Linked DNA regions of Homo sapiens: all the other regions are linked to region 2. The links are contacts of gene promoters, found by promoter capture Hi-C in blood cells and fetal thymus (Javierre and others, 2016). All regions are on one chromosome and are shown on one strand. The core of a region is centred on a gene start or on the middle of the fragment in contact, and the rest is flanking DNA. Distances in the headings are between cores, read along the strand shown. Region 1 holds the start of WASL (WASP like actin nucleation promoting factor). Region 2 holds the start of FAM3C (FAM3 metabolism regulating signaling molecule C). Region 3 has its middle 3.9 kb from the start of NDUFA5.

Region 1 (4,415 bases), core at 954-3,453, 2.4 Mb after region 2:
ACAGGTAAGCACAGAACAATTAGTATACTTGTGTATAAATGTAATGTCCTTTCTGCCTAAAGTTAATGTGTCTGGTATGTAGAACACAGCACAACTACTTCCTTTTTGATACAGGTTACATAGCTAATCTACTAAACCAGCAACTGAATTTTTTTCATTGGAGGTAACTAACATTCAAAGTGCTGAAGATTTTCCTAAACTGAGCATATGCAAACATTAGTGGTGCTTTAAGAATCTTGTATTTTAATTAGTTTTTGGTGAAAAAGGCAAAGTGGTTATTTCTTTAACACCACTTTTAGAAATAAATCAGTAACAGGAAAAAAAAATACCCTTCTAAAACAACATGATGTAGTGCAAAGTACAATGGGATAGGACTAGGTGTGAGGAGTCCTGGTTTTCTAGTTCTGGTTACATTATTAAATTGCTGTATGACTTGGGCTCACTGGATCAGTTTTCTCATTTGTTGAAAAAAGTGTGTGTGAATGGGGAGGGGCTTAAAGTTGTTACCCAAAATTCTCGTTTTGAGCCACTCCTCTTGTTTCATCCTTCTAATCAGGAAACTCAATGTTCTCTAAGGTCTAAATTCCGAAATATGAAACACATCTGAAATTGAATGGAACGATTCAATCTCCAACCGGATGGCACAAGATACAAAGGGTGGACTCCTATGAAGTTAACAATGAATCCAATAACTTTCCAGAAATTGTCTAATCCTAACTTCTTAAAGAAGCAGGTGAAATCTGGTTTGGCATACCTAATATTACTTAAAGGAGTTATAAAATGGTATTGCTTTGTTGAAATTTCCGTGTTTTCTGGGTTCCAGTGGCACATACTCTGCAGGTGCTAGCAAAGTGGAGAGAAAGGGATCCAGCCAGTATTTCAACAAACCACACTTCAACCCAGTCACCGCAGTATGATCCCGACAAGGCCTACACCACAGAGCAGAACCTCCCCACCCCCAGAATTGCCAGCAGCCAATGTAATGAATGCTTCCGTCAACAACACACATTCCCCTTCCCACAGCAGAACTGCTCGCTCCCAACCGGCCATCTGGGGTTGGAATTGGCCGCACAGCACCAAACTAAGAATCATTCTCGGCCCCAAAAGCCAAGAGCTACCAGAGATTGAGGTTTCCCTGCGCATGGCTGCGGGGAGAGCAGCACCCCCTCCCACCAATGGGGGGAAAAAAAAAATCAGTGGGAAGGAGAGTAGAAACCAGGCCTAGGCAAGGTTGCTAGAGAAATAAATCTTGTTTCTCTTTAACGAAGAGCAATAACATTTCTTGCACCCTCTCTAATCCGAAGAGAGCCCAGGCTCTTGCACTCGACTTCATTCCCTCCTGGAATCCTAATGGGAGATTAAAAACCACCTTCCTTCCCCGACCTATCCACTCCTCAAACCTGGCATTGTTAAGGAACGTACCCCCAGATCAAGCAGTAAGAGGTGAAGCGAGAGCTAGAACAAGGGCCCAGATTCTAGGACCAAGCGGCTCTTGCAAGAAAATCCCCTTGTGGCCTGAGAATAAAGTTTTAACCAGCAGCAAGGGCGCGGGCCGAGGCCCGGCCAGGCTGGAGGACAGGCCTGCGGAGGTGACACTCCCTTATTCTCCAGCAGCTCGGGAAGGCGGCGCCCGACCGCCACGGCCCGCACCCTGGGAGCAGGGCGAGGGCGCCGACGAGGGGCCGGGGCCGGGGCCGGGGCTGGCGGGAGGCCTGGCCCGCGCCGCTCCCGCCTCCTTCCCCACTCCCACTTCCCGGCCCCCAAGCCCGGGCCCGTGAGGTAATGTCACGGGTGGCGACGCGGGTCTCGTCCACTGACCACACATTTCTTGCCGAGGAAAGTGAAGAGGGACTCGTTCTCCTGCGGGGTGAGCAACAGGGACCCCACGTTGGTGACCCTCCGCGGCGGCGGCGGCTGCTGCTGGACGGAGCTCATGGTTTCGCCGGCGGGGTTGGGAGTCCAGGGCCGTCTCCTCCGGCGAGTGGGCGAGAGCTCGTTCCCCCTCTCGGTGACAGGGGCGGGGAGAAGTGGAGTCAGAGGCGCCACATCTCGCAGCTCCTCCGGAGCGGGGAGGAGGACGAGGTCGAGGGAAGCAGGCGCTGACGGCGAGCCACCTTCGCGCCGCGCTGAGAAAGGGAAGCTCCCGGCACCCGCCCGGCCAGGCTAGGGCCGGATGGTCGTTGTCCTCGCACTCCGGCGACTGCGCTAAACTCCCAACTCCTCCCCCAACCCTCCCGCAGCGGCGGCGGCGGCCGCACAATCCAACATGGCAGCGGGGGCGGGCGAGACCACAGGACGGAGGGCGCGGGGGAGCGCGCCGGAAACGCGCGGCTGCGGCCCGGGAGAAACCCCCCCACTCGGCGGCGGGCCTCGCGGCGCGGGCCCGAAGCCACGCCCCCTTCCGGCCGAGGCGCGGACCGCGCGGAGCTAAGTGGAATCCCGGTTGGCTTGGGGCGCAGGCTTCCAACTTCGTACTCTGGCCTCTGGCGTCTCGGCTCGTCGGTTGGGTACCCGAACCCAGCTACTGCTGCTTGAAGAGAAGATGGATGGGGACTCCTCGCCGTCGCTGCGCCGCCGGCCTTCCCTGGGCGGACGTACACCTTTGCGAAGCGTCAGTGAGGACCCAGGGCCCCTCCTTGGAATAGCTCTTATTTCTCAAGCGCTGCAGCGTGAAGCTCGCTCTGCGGGTCCGAGAGGCCTGCGATCTGAAGACTGAAAACTGGGAAGAGACGCTCTACCCTGTGCTCCTCGCCGGCTTCGATAGGAGCCGCAGGTGCCTGGGATTTTCTCAAACTTTGTCCCAAACTTCAGCTGTGGGAGTGGAGGAACAAACAGGCCTCTCCCAGAATTGTGAAAGAGATCGCCCTGGTGGATGAAACAAAAACAAATGCACTTGACTTCCACCGCCTGCCTGGCGTGTCACGCGGGTTTAATGTATGTGTCACATTTAAATTCAAAGTATTTTCTTCTAAGGGCCTGGACACATTTCTTTTCTCCCTGTATCGTGAATTGGAAAATACCTTAGGATATTAAAAGTTATCTAAGATAACCCCCTTTCTTCTGTAAGTTAAATACTAAACGGCTTAAGACGAAATTTTGGAATATAGAGATGATGATGCAGACTGCAGTGAATTATCAAATATGCATCTCACTGTTCTCCACATTAAACATATTTTTGTTGCGTAAATTCATGTTAAGACGTCTATAACAATTACACTTTGGTAAAATTGTTGGATGTTAACATCTCTGATAGCTCCCAATAGAAATCTCTGATGTACTAACCAGACTGGTAAACCATTATCATGCACTTTGAAAATATAATAAAATATTATAATTAAAGCTGCCATTAATGAAATAGGCTGAGCAACAATAAATTTACAAAGGAAAATAAAAGTGGATAGCCTTGGGAGTTCTCACATAAAATATGGAGATTTCAAAGTTAAACTTGATTAATTATGTTAGGGTAAAAAGTGAATTAAAGCAACAGGACTATTTATAAAATAATTAGATTTAGAAAGCAGTCGTAGAAATATAAGCCTGGAGTTGCCTCTGAATTACATATTTAACAAACCTAGAAGCTAAATCAGTTTGTCTTTTATCAAAACTGCAACTCCTCTAAGTTGAAAGCACAGTGACAAGAGAAAGCATTACAAATTCTTGAGAAATAATAGAAATTAAAGCTCTTTTCAAACCTGTGAACAAGTATAGTACCAGAAGTATAAGATTCAGATAGGCCCAAGTTGTAGTTCTTGTTATGAGTCTTACAACCCTATGGACTTTGGACAAATTACTTCTCTGCGTCTGTTTCCTCATCTGTAAAATGAAAATAATTTCTGTTTCATACAGGTATAGTCTAAATAGGGATAATTACACCTACTTCAAAGTTGTAAAATACACAATTACAACTAGATAGGAGGTATAAGTTCTAGTGTTCTGTAGCACTGTAGGATGACTATAGTTAACAATATTGTATAGTTTCAAATAGCTAGAAGAAGGATATTGCATGTTCCCAAAACAAAGACATAAGTTTTTGAGATGATAGATATGCTAATTACCCTAATCACTATATGTTATATGTATTGCAACATCACTATGTACCCCCATAAATATGTACAGTTATTGTGTATTAAAATTTTTTTAAACTAAAATTATAAGACATTAAAAAAAGGTATCACATGTAAAGTACCTGATACATAGTGGTTACTCAAGTATTAGTTGTCGGCCATTGACAGTCCTTGCCTATGGTCTTTTCTGCTTTCCCTGAGCTAAGGGATCAAGACTTAATATATGTATTCTTACCTTTGTTCTAATTCTGACTCTTCAAAAACTGTCCTTCAAATATACAATTGTACATATTTTTTCAAAAATATAGTGAAGAACTTGATAGCAGAATTTCTGATTAGGCCATATATTAT
Region 2 (4,871 bases), core at 845-3,344:
ATGGTGGAAAATATATGAGTCTTCTGATACCCCCTCAGGGAACATTACTTTTTGCCATTCCATAGCCTCTTAGCCTTTTGGCTGTCTTTTCCAATTTCCTTTTCCTTTTTAATGTATCTTCATAAATTATGAAAGATTAGTTGACAATGCTTAAGGCAGCAATCCACATTAAAAATCTGTAATTGTAATAAAACATCCATTAAGTTTATTTTTAAAGTCACTTTAAGCCAGTAGTGTCTTATTTTTACTCCCTTTTGAAACAGAAGCCCCTTACAATGAGGATTTTGAGGAACCTGTCCTGTGTCCCTCTTACAAAGTTCCCATTGGTAATTCAGAGAGGTCCTCAGGTTGAGAACTGCTGGACTGAACTCCTTTTATTGGCTCCAACTCTTCTTATTTCTTCCTATGAAGAAATGCTAGTCTTTATTGAGTTGAGAAAACATTACAAGAATCTGTGAAACAAAGCTTCTAATACCTGTATAAAACTGAAAACCTTGTGACTTTATTGGTAAACAGCCAAGAAACACAAGAGACTACTAGTAGCCTCTAGAAAGAGGTACAGGTCGATGAAGTGACCAAAACCGGATGCTGATTTGCTGATTCTGCCAATTTCTTGTTAAATGGCTTTCAGTAAGTGATTAACTTTTATTTTCTAAATTCAATAGAGATCTGCTGGTACTCTGTAAGATACTGTATGACTAATAGTAACGGTTCCCAAGACTTAAGAAAACGTAACTGCAAATTGGCCACAAGTCCAAGGGGTCGGGGCCTCTGCTATCAGCATTGACCTTTACTCTCGGGAGTTCATATTTCCATCTGTAAAACTAGAAAAGATAAAGGGACTTATTCACTGAGCTGTTGTGAGAATAAATGAGCACACGAAACCATTTGGCAGTGCCTAGTACACAGTAAGCAATCTAATATTATTTATGTCATTGTATCCATATATATATGGATACATACATATATATGGATACATGGATACATACATATATACGGATACATACATATATATGGATACATACATACATATATATGGATACATACATATATATGGATACATACATATATATGGATACATACATATATATGGATACATACATACATATATATATATGGATACATACACCTGGCTAATTTTTTTATTTTTTAGTAGAGACGAGGTTTCACCATGTTGGCCAAAAAGAAACAAAGGAAAAGTCCTATCAATTAGATAGCAGTTCTATATTACAGGCAATAATATTTTTTCTTAAAAAAAAAAAAGGTAGAGGATGATGGAAACCGCTCCTCCCACAAGTAAAACAGCTGGAGCTCTCAATCTCAAATTGCCAATCCGTCACTCACATATTCAGATCTAGGGCCACTAATCATCATCCGTGGTCCCGAGCTGTGAGAGCAGTAGCAAACAAATAGGAAGAAAAAGAAGAGACACCAAACATCAAAGGGCTGGATAGCTTGTAAAAAACCAAAAGTACCTCTAGTATAGGCGACACTAAAACTTTACAAGTGAGTCAAAACGGCCCCCTATGGAGTTGGAATGCAACACCCAACTCCGTCCCCACCTCTCGGAGCTCTCAGCCTACACGCTGCAGGGGCGCGAGCCACAGCCAACCTGGGGAAGATGCGACCCAGGTGCCCGCCCCAGGCCGGGGCGCCGAGTGCCAGCGCCAGGTGCAGACGCCGCCCCGTCTCCGCGGAGCCCGGGGATGCCCACGCCGGGGCGGCGGCCGGGAACCCCGGCCAGCGGCTCTCCGGGACCCCAGTCCCGCCTGCGCCCTCTCCAACGTCCGGACACGCCGTGACAACGCGGCCGGGCCCGGGGCCCGCCCCCGGCCGGTGACCGCAGTGCGCGGAGGCTGAAGTCGTAGGTGGGCGTCTGGCTTCCCCGGCCTCCTCCATCCCTCCCCGAACCTGAGCCCCGGCTCCGTCCGCCTCCCAGCCGTCTCACCGGCCTCCCGCCCGCCTCTCCGCCGCGCGCGCCCGCCTTCCGGCCTCCCAGCGCTCAGTCCTGCCGGAGGCCGACGGGAGCCGCCGCCTCCAGCTCGCGCCTCCGCTTCCTCTCGGACTCCTCCGGCTGCCCCTCACCCCGGCAAGTGGCCAGGAGAAAGCCAGCTCGCCGCTGGGCCTCCTCCCACGCTTCCCGGCCGCGACCAATGGGCCCCCGCCGCCGGGAAGCCGCGCCCGCCCCCTGGCGGTGGAGGACCAAGCGGGCGCCCGGGCCGGCCAGAGGGAAGGGCCGGAGAGCGGAGGGAGGGGTCTGCGGTCCCGCCCACCGCCCCCGGCCAGGCGCTGCACAATCTGAACTTGCCACGTGGGAGCTGCCGCCGCCGCAGCGGCCCTGCGCCGGGTGGCACTACGGGAGGGAGAAAAATGTGTCACCGCCGTCTCCCCACCGTTTACACGCACAAAATCCCAGCCTCAAGGGCAGAACATTTTAAATGACCCACCCATCCTAGAGATGCGCCAGTTAGGTCATCTTATATATCTTGAGATAGCTGAGATGGTCAGATCAACCAAGGACCTTGGGTTATTTGCCGTTTGACTTCTTGAACCCTAGGAAACTGATTCTGAAAATCCTACTGTCCAGCGTCATTAGAATTCTGATCACCTTTAATGCACCACCCAAGAAGAACAGTAGTCCTTGCATTTTCCAAGTCACGTTTATTTTTTAAATTATAAGATACACAATCGTTAGAAATATTTTTTCTCAGGAGATTTCCTACAATTGTGTTGATAATTGGGAAGTTAATCCAAATCTTACTACATAAGACCTTAGAATGCAAAATTATTTCATAATTCAGATCCATATTCTAAAATAATGAATAACTGTTACCTAGTATTTGACAGAATATTGGGATCATCAGTGGTTGCAGAAATTAAATTGCATTTAAAAATAGGGTTTGACTATAGTGTGTTAATATAGAATTAATAATCTACCAAATTTTAGCTTTCCTCCAAAAATATAAAACACACAAACTAATAGTAACTATGAATTCTGGAGTTTGTGATCCGTGATCAGGGGAGAAAGCATGAAATGAATTCTCATTGTCTTCCATGTGCCAATATTATGCTATTTGTGTATTACTTAAATCAAAAAACTAAGACTCCAAAACTGAGTTTAAATATCTTGCTCAAAAATACAAGATAGTAAGTTATGAAGCTGGAATTCCGGCCTAGCTTCATGTAGCTCCAAATAAACAAAAAGGCACTTTGCTTATTATAGTACCAAAAAATCATAACACTTACTGTACACATGCCTCTCCTAGACTGCTATGTCTCACTGAAAGAGTTTATGAAGCCTCTTGAGTAGGGAGGTCACGGTGTATTTCTGAAAGAGCAATCTGCTCTGTAACCGAGCCAACCAGATTGGAAATTACATGTGACATATTCTTATAGCACCACACCTGAAACAATTCCTGTGCATAAAGTTTAATGTGTTAGTAGCCTATTCTCCACTGACCATAAGATATAGCTTAGAACCCTTTGGTAGGTAATGAAATTAATAACAATGGGTCACAACCAACATTTTGTTGCTGTTGATTCACTGAAAAATAGAAAAAAAAAACAGTTCAAAGCATAAATTCAGGATAAGTATTCTTCATGAAACATTTGTACAGCATCATGTGTGGGTGAGTGTCTGTGTGTCTATGTCCTGGATACAGTAGAAATTATATTTCTTAATATGGGTTTCAATTTTTTTAACATTGGTAAATCACTTCTTTAGGACTCCTGTTAATCAGCCAGTTCTTACACCTATAAACGAGTAAGGATAACTTCCTACTTTTACTTGGCAGGAGGTAGGGGAGCCAGGAGAAGTATTCAGGATTAATGATTAAGCTTAATAAAACCACAGAGCTTTACAGCTCCAGGAGGTATAAGCCAAAGGTGTTGGCTATTACAATAACTACCGATAATTTATATTATATAATAATAGCTACTGATAATGTATATTTCTAAAGCTGATATTTATTGTGTGCTTATTGTGCACCAGGCACTTTTCTAAGCACTTTATATATATAGACTTATTTAATTCTCACAATAATCCTATAAATACAGCGGAGAAAAGTGAAACTTGCTCAAGGTCCTTCTGCTATGACCAGACAGAGCTAAGATTCAAACTCACGTGCTCAACTTCAAAGCCCAACTTTTTTGTTGACTCGAAAAGAATATACAGAGAGTGTGACATCCAGCTTCTGAGTGTCATCCTTCATAGCACAAGCAACAAAAGAGAGGATTAAATATGGATGATGTTGAGAAAGGCAAGAAGATTTGTATTCAGAAGTGTGCCCAGTGCCACACTGTGGAAAAGGCAGGCAAGCACAGGACTGGGCCTAATCTCCATGGTCTCTTCGGATGGAAGACAGGTCAAGCCGTTGGATTATTTTACACAGATGCCATTAAGAACAAAGGCATCACCTGGGGAGAGGATACACTGATGGAGTATTTGGAGAATCCCAAGAAGCACATCTCTGGAACAAAGTGATCTTTGCCAGCATTAAGAAGAAGGCAGAAAGAGCAGACTTGATAGCTTATCTCAAAAAAGCTACTAATGAATAATAATTGGCCACTGCCTTATTTATTACAAAACAGAAATGTCTTATGACTTTTTTATGTGTACCATAATTTAATAGACCTCACACACCAGAATTCAGATCATGAATAACTGACAGAATATTTTGTTGGGCAGTCCTGATGTAAAACTAAGACTGGCTTGCAGTTAAATGAATATGTTCAGTTTTTTTGAATTTTAATAGTAATCCAATTCAGTAAATGCTATCACTGTTTACCCTTTCTAAAGACATGATTTGATTAGACTTTGTTAGTAATGTTCAGCTTTTCACAAAGATGGTGAATGCCATCTTAAAACATAT
Region 3 (4,774 bases), core at 45-2,544, 2.2 Mb after region 2:
ATTAAAGAAATTGAATTAGCAAGAAAAAAAAAAAAACCTATCCAGAAGGAAAAGCACAGGTCCAGATGGCTTCGCTGGTAAATTCCACTGAACAATTAAAGAATAACACTTAAGAAACTATTCCAAAATATAGAAGAGGAGGAAACAATTAACAACTAATTCTATAAGGCAAGTATTACTCTGATTCCAACCAGACAAAGAAATCAACAAGAAACAAAAACTTCAGCCAGGTGTGGACTCTGATTCCAACCAGACAAAGAAATCAACAAGAAAAGAAAACTTCGGCTGGGCCTGGTGGCTCATGCCTGTAATCCCAGCACTTTGGGAAGCTGAGGCAGGAGGATCACCTGAGGTCAAGGGTTTGAGACAGCCTGGCCAACATGACAAAACCTTCTCTCTACTAAAAATACAAAAATTAGCCAGGCCTTGTGGTGTGTGCCTGTAATCTCAGCTACTCTGGAGGCTGAGACAGGAGAATCACTCAAACTCAGGAGGCAGAGGTTGCAGTGAGCCAAGATTGGGCCATTGCACTCTAGCCTGGGTGACAGAGCAAGATTCCGTCTCACAAAAAAAAAAAAAAAAAAGGAAAGAAAAAAGAAAATAAAACTTCAGGCCAATATCCCTTATTAATAAACACAAAATACTCAGAAAAGTACTAGCAAACCAAATTCAGTAGCATATGAAAAAAAAATTATACACCACAAATAAATGATATTTATTTCAAAAATACAAAGTTGGTTTAACATCCCCAAATCAATTAATCTAATGTACCATTGAATACAGGACAAAAACTATATGATAATTTTAATAGATGCAGAAAAAGCATTGGACAAATTTCAACATGCTTTCATGATAAAAGCACACAACAAGCTGGGAAAAGAAGAGAAATTTTTCAACCTGATAAAGATGCTTAGAAAAACCCCACAACATCATACTTAAGAGTGAAAGGCAATTCTTTTCTGCTAAGATCATTCACAAGACAAATATTTTTCCACTCTCACCACTTCTATCCAACAATATATTGGAAATATTAGCTAAGGGAATTAGGCAAGAAAATAAAATGAATAAAAGTCATCCAGAAGAGACAGGAAAAAGTAAAACTATCTCTATTCACAGTTGCATAATCTTTTATATAGGATTATTAAGGAATACACACATACATACAATTAAAACAAATAACTTCAGCAAAGTTACATTATACGTGATCTATCAGGGTCAGCTCAGGCTGCCATAACAAAATACTATGGATGAGGTGGCTTAAACAACAGAAATGTATTTCTCACAGTTCTGAAGGCTGATAAGTTTAAGACCAAAGCCAGCAAGACAGATTTCATTCTGAGGCTTTTTCTTTTGGCTTATACTGGTTACCCTCTCATGGTATGCTCATATTTACCTCTTTTCGTGTGTGCTTGGGGTTGGGTCAGGGTGGAGAGCAAGATCTCTGGTGTCCCTTTTTATAAGGCCACTGTTACCATCATGACCTCATCTAAACCTAATTATCTCCCAAAGATTCCATCTCCAAATACCATTTTATTGAGGTTTAGAGCTGTAATATATGAAATCTGGGGGACATAGTCCATAGCAATCAATATACAAAAATATGCTCTAGTCTATTATAGCAATGAATAATCTGAAAATAAATTAAGAAAACAATTCTATTTACCATAGCATCAAAAAGAAATAAATCTAACAAAATAAGTGTAACACTTGTACACTGAAAAGTATTAAATATTGTTGGAAATACTAAAGATCTAAATAAATAGACATTTCTTATTTAATGATTTGAAGTCAATATTGGTCAGATGGCAATACTCAAGTTGATGTAGCGTTTCATCACAATTCCTATCAAAATCCCAGCTTCCTTTTTGCAGAAATTTTTCACAAAAGATTTGTCAGTAGCAGAAGGCACTGTTTGATAACACTTGTCTCACAGAAGAACTCTCAAAATTGGAATCAGTCCTCTCAATTCTGCTGCTGCTTTATCAACCAAATTTATAAAATATTATAAAGACTTTGTTGTCATTTAAACAATATTCACAGTATCTTCACCAGGAGTAGATTCCATCTCAAGAAACCACTTTCTTTGTTCATTCAAGAAGCAACTCATCATCTGATCAAGTTTTATCATGAGATTGCAGCAGTTCAGTCACATCTTCAAGCTCTACTTCTAATTCTGGTTCTCTTGCTGTTTTCCTCACATTTGCAATGGCTTTTTCCACTGATCTTCAACCCCTCAAAGTCATCCATGTGAGTTGGAATCAACTTTTGCTAAACTCCTGTTAATATTGATATTTTGACCTCCTTGCATGAATCACCAATTTTTTTTTTGAGACAGAGTCTCTATTGCCCAGGCTGGAGTGCAGTGGCATGATCTTGGCTCACTGCAACCTCTGCTGCCCCAGTTCAAGCAATTCTCCTGCCTCAGCCTCCCGAGTAGCTGGAATTACAGGCATCTGCCACCGCACCCGGCTAATTTTTGTATTCTTAGTAGAGACGGGGTTTCACCGTCTTGGCCGGGCTGGTCTTGAACTCCTGACCTCATGATCCACCCACCTCAGCCTTCCAAAGTGCTAGGATTACAAGCGTGGCCACCGCACCTGGCCCATGAATCACCAAATCTTTTTAATAGCATCTAGTGTGGTCAGTTCTTTCAAGAAGGTTTTCAATTTATGTTACCCAGATCTGTCAGAGGAATCGGTATTTATGGTAACTATAGCCTTATAAAATGTATTTTTTTAAATAAGACTTGAAAGTGGACATTACTCCTTGACTCGTGGACTGCAGAATGATGACTGCAGCATGTTGTGCGTGAAAACAATGTTAATCTCTTTGTACATCTTCATCCTCAGGGCTCTTGAGTGACCAGGTACATTTTCAATGAGCAGTAATATTTTGAAAGAAATCTTCTTTTTTCTTAGCCCAGACTTTGTTGTTCCATTTATAGAACACAGGCAGACTAGATTTAGCATCATTCTTCAGGGTCCTAGGATTTTCAGGATGGTAAGTGAGCATGGGCTTCAACAGCTGCATAAGCCTGTAACAAGAGAGTTAGCCTGTCTTTTGAAGCTTTGAAGCCAGGTGTTGACTTGTCCTCTCTAGCTTTGAAAGTCTTAGATAGCATCTTTTTCCCATAGAAGGCTGTTTCATCTACATTTTTAAAAATCTATTGTTTCCTGTGGTTATCTCCATCAGTGATCTTAGCTAGATCTTCTGGATCTTGCTGCAGCTTCTACATCAGCACTTGCTGCTTCACCTTGCACTTTTATGTTACGAAAATGGCTTCTTTCCTTAAACCTCATGAACCAATTTCTAACAGCTTCAGAGTTTTCTTCTGCAGCTTTTTTTACCTCTCTTAGGCTTCATAGTGCTGAAGAGAGTCAGGGCCTTGCTCTGGATTAGGTTTTGGCTTAAGGGAATGTTGTGGATGGCCTGGTCTATCCAGGTCACTAAAACTTTCTCCATATCAGCAATAAGGCTGTTTTTCTTTTTCTTTTCTTTCTTTCTTTCTTTTTTTTTTTTTTTTGAGTCAGAGTTTTCTCTCTGTTGCCCAGGCTGGAGTGCAGCAGCACGATCTCGCCTCACTGCAACCTTTGCCTCCCTGGTTCAAGCATTTCTCCTGCCTCAGCCTCCTGAGTAACTAGGATTACAGGCAGGCACACCACTCCCAGCTAATTTTTTTTTGTATTTTTAGTAGAGACAGGGTTTCACCATGTTGGTCAGGCTGGCCTAGAACTCCTGACCTCAGGTGATCCGCCCACCTCGGTCTCTGAATGTGCTGGGGTTACAGGTGTGAGCCACCGCGCCTGGCCTGTTTTGCCTTTTTATCATTCGTGTGTTAACAGAGTAGCACTTTTAATTTTCTTCAAGAACTTTTTCTTTGTATTCACAGCTTGGCTAACTGGTGCAAGAGGCCTACTTTTTGGCCCATCTTAGCTTTCAACATGCCTCCCTCACTAAGCTTAATCGTTTCTAACTTTTGTTTTAAAGTGAGAGATTTGTGACTCTTCCTTTCACATGAACACTTAAAGGCCATTGCAGCATTATTAACTGGCCTAATTTCAACATTGTTGTATCTCAGGGAATAGGAAGGCTAGAGCAGAAGGAGAGAGATGGGGAACAGCCAGTCGGTGGAGCAACCAGAACACAAATAACATTTAAGTTTGTTGTCTTATATGGGTGTGGTTTGTTGAACTCTAAGACACTTAATAACACTAACATCAAAGATCAGTAATTACAGATCACCATAATAGATAAGGAAGAAGTTTGAAATATTTCAAGAGTTACCAAAACGTGACACAGAAGCATGAAGTGAGTACATGCTGTTGGAAAAAATGGTGCTAATAGACTTGCTTGATACATAGTTGCCACAAACTTTAAATTTGCAAAATATCTGCGAAGTAAAACAATATAGCAAAGCACAATAACATAAAGTGTGCCTTTTATACATATACGTGGCTGTTATCACAGTATCCTAGAGCCAGTAGACCTACAGGAGGCTAAATGATGAGGGTCACAGAGCCACAGGCAGTTCTCTAAGGGTTCTAAACAGGAAGCACCAGGATTGAGATTTATGTTTAGATGCCACATCATGGGCAGTGTGAAGAAGGAGTCTGCATGTGGCAGGACTGTGAGCAGTATGACCCAATACAAACATCTATGAAAAAATGAAATAAAATCTATCAAAAAAAAGGTTGGTGAATTTGACTACATTAATATTCTATACTTCTGAATAACAAGAGACACAACTTAAATTGTAAAACAACACAGACGGGAA

The links. The method cuts DNA at HindIII sites, captures the fragments that hold promoters and counts their contacts. A CHiCAGO score of 5 or more calls a contact.
Region 1: the fragment with the promoter of WASL here is called in contact with the fragment with the promoter of FAM3C in region 2 in 1 of 17 cell types (M0 macrophages); the score reaches 6.3 in M0 macrophages.
Region 3: a contact is called between a fragment that was not itself captured here and the fragment with the promoter of FAM3C in region 2, in 2 of 17 cell types (total CD4 T cells and total CD8 T cells). The highest score is 5.8, in total CD4 T cells.

Annotation. Positions count from the first base shown.
Region 1 is chr7:123,746,800-123,751,214 of GRCh38, forward strand. WASL (WASP like actin nucleation promoting factor) reads right to left here and starts at 2,204. Exons shown (of 11, transcript NM_003941.4): 1 at 1,819-2,204. The coding sequence starts at 1,935. It overlaps WASL-DT (WASL divergent transcript), which reads left to right and starts at 2,396. Exons shown (of 1, transcript NR_170281.1): 1 at 2,396-4,182. RefSeq lists enhancers at 1,125-1,174, 1,934-2,588 and silencers at 1,617-1,706, 2,167-2,486. The HindIII fragment of the contact is 6,394 bases long and covers 1-4,415 here.
Region 2 is chr7:121,394,214-121,399,084 of GRCh38, forward strand. It overlaps FAM3C (FAM3 metabolism regulating signaling molecule C), which reads right to left and starts at 2,095. Exons shown (of 10, transcript NM_014888.3): 1 at 1,949-2,095. It also overlaps the pseudogene CYCSP19. RefSeq lists enhancers at 1,132-1,717, 1,718-2,302 and silencers at 1,530-2,359, 2,400-2,459. The HindIII fragment of the contact is 3,372 bases long and covers 464-3,835 here.
Region 3 is chr7:123,559,292-123,564,065 of GRCh38, forward strand. It overlaps a transcript of NDUFA5 not described here. Among named protein-coding and RNA genes, the nearest start is that of NDUFA5, 3.9 kb to the left of the region's middle. The HindIII fragment of the contact is 3,539 bases long and covers 1-3,064 here.